2 separate regions of the Homo sapiens genome follow, and region 2 is linked to region 1. The links are contacts of gene promoters, found by promoter capture Hi-C in blood cells and fetal thymus (Javierre and others, 2016). All regions are on one chromosome and are shown on one strand. Each heading gives the region's core, a stretch centred on a gene start or on the middle of the fragment in contact. The rest is flanking DNA. Distances are from core to core; before and after follow the strand shown.

Region 1 (2,654 bases), core at 46-2,545:
CGGACACGCCGAAGCTTGAGAGACTGGAACCCACTACGTTGCAGCTGGCGGAAGAAGAGGACGAGGAGCGTTTCCAGGGGTGGAAGCCTTTGCCGAAGGAAGAAGAGCTGTCCGAGAGGGAGGAGGGAGACGGGCTGGGGCTGCCTATCTTATTACAGGTAGCGGCAAGCATGGCCAGAGGAGTCGATCCCAACCTCGGTTCTTCCTGCGAGGAGGAGAGGAGAAGGAGTGGGGGAGGGGAGGTGGGCAAAGGGCCGGTGGGGGAGGAAAGGAAGAAATGTGCATCAGTCCTTCGGTAGCCTCCAAAGCGCCCCACTGCACCCCATCTCTCGCTGCGGCGCGCCGCCACCAACTCACCTGGCACCCCCAACAGCCCCGGCGCCCGGCCGCTTCCTACTCTACAGGAGGGGACAAGTTTGGCTGCCGGCGTCTGATTCGGGAGCAAGCACCACGCTAAAGAAGAGTTTGACAAGTATTCTCACCTAAAACAACACTCTCTTGCACACAAAGCCCCAGACACTTCGTAACAAACAAGCAAAAAGTCCAGATTGGAGAGGAAGGAAGTTTTCTTTGCCGAGAAGCCTGGGGGAAAACCATTGGATTGCTTTTAAGAGCGCTTCCCTGTAATCCGGAGAGCTTTGAAAAACCTGTTCGGGTCCCCAGAAACCCATCCTGGGTTGTTTCTCCCAGGCCAAAAGAAATCAAACTGTAGGGCTCACTCTTTCTTCCTGCTTTTCTTTCTTTCTTTTTTTAAAAGCATATCTACAGTAGTAAAAACGAGACGAGTTCAACGTACCTGCGAGACAAGGCGGGCTGCAGAATTTTTTTTTAAGGGTTAGGGGAAGAATCTGCACTTTGCCCAGAAGGAAAAACTTGCTCTCTTTACCCCCGAAATCGGTGCCTGTAAAATGGGCTGGACGCAGGTCTCCCGGGCAGGGAGCAGCGAGGCGCTGCGCGGTGGCTTGTCTAAATGCCCTTCGAACCTTTTCCTGCGCTGAAAAAAAGTGACTCTGCCCCCTTCTCCCCCTTTTTCTTTTCTCCAAACTCACTTGTATTTAAAGAAAAAAAAAAAAAGCTCTCAATAGAGAGACTGATAGCCCGTGGCCTGGCCGGGGCGACTTTAACCCCCTCCAATCGGCAATAAAAGGAAACTAATTAAACCAGCAAGAGAAAATCCTGAGACTCACCCCTAGAAGTGAAGTTGCCATCACACAAAAGTGCCCTCCTCCTCTCAGAGGATCTTTTTTATATTGATAAATCAGAGGCAGTGTTTTTTTTAGAGGTGTGCAATACAATGATCAGTTCCGCCCATTCCACCACAATTGTAGCTCCCTCTCCGGCTTTGAAGTGCCGCGGAGGCGCGGCCAGCCAATCTGCGGCCTCGCCGGGCCGCGCGGCGCGCGCGCCGTGAGGTCATCGGCGCCGCCGCCTGCCGCCGTGGTGGAAGGGGGAGTGGGAGCGGAGGGGGCGGGGGCGGCTGCGTGTGTTACAAAGCGCAAAGCGCGCGCTCGCGTGTATGAGTGTGTGTGTAACAATGTAACTGTGTGCGAGTGTGACCAGGCGTAGGAGAGGACAGTGCGGAGACTGGAGGGAGGGGGGATGGGGGTGTGACACCGTAACAGTGACAGTGTGGTAAAGGCGGGGAGTGGAGAGAGTGCAGAAAAGGGAGGGTTGTGTGATAAGATAACTGCGTGTGCGACAAAGCGGGGTAGAGGGACAGAGCAGTTAAGTGTTGGGAAGGGTGTGAGTGTACGGTAGTGTAACTGACAAACCTAGGGAGGGAAGAGGGACTCAACTGGGTGGGGGGTGAGTGTGTTTGGTGTTGGGGGAGAAGGAGGGCTGTGAACATGTGTATTTGTGCGACAGAGAAGAGGGAAGGGTGTGTGTGGGCGCTTGTGTTGTGTGCGCGCACCAAAGCTGGTAGTGGGGAATGGGAACAATGCAATAAAGTGTGTGTTTGTAAGAGAGAGACTGTCGAGCTGAAGAGAGAAACCGACTAAGTTGATGGAGGCTGAGTGAATAAATATTCACAAACGCTGCCCCTGTCGCCAACTTCCTTTGGCTCCTTGTACCTAAAATCTTGAGTGATTTTTTTTTCTTAACTTGGTAAACAGCGTCACTACATTTTTGAAGAAGATCTTTAAACCCACCTTTTCTTTCCCGGCTCTCCAACGAAATAGTAGAAAGGTTGAGAGGCTAAGGGTTATTTTTAGGGATGCGTTGGGACGTGGATGCGCGCCTGCGCGCCCATGAGTTGTTTCTTTGATGCCGTGGCTTTTTTTTTTTTTTTTTTTTTTTTTTTCCCTGAGGTGGAATTCTGCTTTAGAAGTGCACGTCTCACTCTAGGGGAGGAGGTGTGTGTGTCCCGTGGTGTTGAGTAAATTTCAATACAAAAGGATTAGATAGAGAAGAGAGTAAGCGAGGGTCGTTTTTTCTTTGGGTAAGAAATTGAAGAGCGTTTTACGGAATTTAGAAATTTTCACAGAAAACCTCACTGCCTCTTTCTGAGAAAAGAATCAGGACTTTGATCGAAATATATGGGTTCTATTTATCTAAGAATAGAGAGGAGCTTTTGACAAATCTTGGACATTTATCCAGGCGTCAGTGTCTAATGGCGATTGGGCCAGAGATCTGTCTATGAGTGTGTGTGCATG
Region 2 (2,654 bases), core at 75-2,574, 2.7 Mb after region 1:
CTGGGGAGATAAGACTAACAAAACAGTATAGATTGAACTGAAATTACGATGCTACTAGTATATCACCATTAGAACTTACATCATATAAATGTGTTTTCCATTTTATGTCTTTCTATAACTCGTTTTCTATTTAAAATATATGTAGTTAGTATTATACATATAAAACATCCATCAACATTATTAAAACATGAACGTAAGCAGTTTAAAAATTGGTAGAAATAATACGGGTCACATATTTTGAAGTTAAATTTATCTCGAAAATATGAAGTTATCACAAATCCTTTCTGTTGGATTGTTCTACCACTTCTATTTGTGTACATTATCCATAATAGATACATTAATCAAAATAAGCAGTGTTATTTGAAAAAATGTCTCTATAAAAAAAGAGCTAAAGATAGATACTGGTCTGTTCTTGTCGTGAAAACAACAATGGTTTTTGAAACTTAAATAAGGAGAGAAAACTCAGATTTAAGTGAAGTGTGGGTCCTGTTATTTACTGTCTTTATTGGGGGTTAGGAGAGCTGAGATTAAACTGTAATGTTGCTTCAGGAATGACTACCAACAAAGTTTTAAGTTGCTATAAATGAAGAATATTATTTCAGTCAAATGATAGCCCCTTCCTGTTATTCTTTAAAATAATTATTTCCTTGTTTATTAAATATCCTTAAATTATTTCATTGCAAAGTGAGGGGAAGTCATATTGTATTAGGATAACCAAACATTTTAACACTTTGAGCCTCTAAATGGATGAAGAATGCCCATTGCTTTTTAAACAAACCAAAACAAAAACAAAAAAAAGTTTATCTTTGTTAAAATAAGTGATGCATTTATCTTCTTTCTTTACCTATGGCAATGTTCTGCTAACATAGTAATAAGCTGAGTTACTCTCTGGATGTGGCAATTAATAGAAATAAATATATTACAGTGAAGCACAGAGAGGATATATAAGCAAAAAAAATAAAAACATCAGATTTATGGAACTCTGGATTAAGCTAAAATTTAGAGTATCTTCTTACAACCAAATCCAGTGATCAAGCTTATAGTCTTTAAAACCTGTAACAAAGTAAAAACTTGAAAGTATTGTTAATATGCAGTTATTACTAATTATGATAAAAATCTATTTGTGGTTTTGTTTAATGTAACTATATAATATAAAATACAATTATTTTGTTTTTAAAGGTTTTTTCCCATGTTTCTTTTGAGTAAATTCAAAAACTTGAAAGTTAAACTGAGCCGGGCGCAGTGACTCATGCCTGTAATCCAAGCACTTTGGGAGGCTGAGGCAGGCGGATCACAAGGTCAGGAGATCGAGACCAGCCTGGCCAATATGGTGAAACCCCGTCTCTACTAAAAATATAAAAATCAGCTGGGTGTGGTGGCACGCACCTGTAGTCCCAGCTACTTGGGAGGCTGAGGCAGGAGAATTGCTTGAACCTGGGAAGCAGAAGTTGCAGTGAGCCATGTTGGTGCCACTGCACTCCAGCCTGGGCAACAGAGCGAGACTCCATCTCCAAAAAAGAAAAAAAGAAAGTTAAACTGAAGACTGTTAAAGTTGTTTTATAAAAATCAGATATCTGTGGATTAAAACATGGTCCTTTTCTAACTTTTCCATGAAAGCTTGGAATATAACCTATTAAAAGCTAACTGACAGCCAGGCGCAGTGGCTCACGCCTGTAATCCCAGCACTGTGGGAGGCCGAGGCAGTCAGATCGCCTGAGGTCAGGAGTTCGAGACCAGCCTGGCCAACATGTTGAAACCCCGTCTCGCCCTCCCCCCCAAGCTGTTTTTCTAGCATGTTGCCCTTTTTCAACCACATTTGTGTTTCAGGTGTAGAGAGGAGAGTGAACAGGGAGCGGGGCTTTTGTCTGTTGGTCTCCCTGGACTGAAGAGAGGGAGAATAGAAGCCAAGACTAAGATTCTCAAAATGGTTTATTACCCAGAACTCTTTCTCTGGGTCAGTCAAGAACCATTTCCAAACAAGGACATGGAGGGAAGGCTTCCTAAGGGAAGACTTCCTGTCCCAAAGGAAGTGAACTACAAGAAGAACGATGAGACAAACGCTGCCTCCCTGACTCTACTGGGCAGCAGTGAACTCCGCTCCCCAAGAATCAGTTACCTCCACTTTTTTTAATCGTAACACCTCCATTTGTATTACATACGGTGTATGGGTATTCATGAGGTCATGGTACCATATATGGGATTTTTTTCTGTGTAAATCATTAAGTATAAGAGGAAACTATGGGACTCTGAGCCTTGCTTTAGAGAATTTACAGTGGACAAATAGGTATCATCAAACCAGTTTTTAATCATTCTGACCCAAGTGAAAATGCTCAGAATTTCACACTGTGAATCCACGTTTACAACCCTTACAGGTGGGCCTTCAGGCCTGGTTCGCTACAACAATGTCTTCCACAACTCAAATTCCCACCGCGTTCACACAACCAGTGCACTCCTGCCTTTTCACTCACACAGCTCCCGACCGCTTCTTGCAGAGGCTGAGAGTCCCCCCCTTTTTCTTCATTTAGATGTAACAAACCTAGTAGTTTATGTTTATCAATTGTCTGTATATCTCTATATTTTATCCATGTACTCTTGATGTATAGACATAGTTTGAAACTCGTTTCCTTGTGGTAAGTGACCGAGATGCTGCCACA

What was found. The method cuts DNA at HindIII sites, captures the fragments that hold promoters and counts their contacts. A CHiCAGO score of 5 or more calls a contact.
Region 2: a contact is called between a fragment that was not itself captured here and the fragment with the promoter of SP8 in region 1, in 1 of 17 cell types (naive B cells). The highest score is 5.5, in naive B cells.

Annotation. Positions count from the first base shown.
Region 1 is chr7:20,785,591-20,788,244 of GRCh38, forward strand. It overlaps SP8 (Sp8 transcription factor), which reads right to left and starts at 1,296. Exons shown (of 2, transcript NM_182700.6): 1 at 1,188-1,296; 2 at 1-205. The coding sequence starts at 1,208. The HindIII fragment of the contact is 6,810 bases long and covers 13-2,654 here.
Region 2 is chr7:23,478,829-23,481,482 of GRCh38, forward strand. It overlaps the pseudogene LOC389473. Among named protein-coding and RNA genes, the nearest start is that of IGF2BP3, 9.7 kb to the left of the region's middle. The HindIII fragment of the contact is 581 bases long and covers 1,035-1,615 here.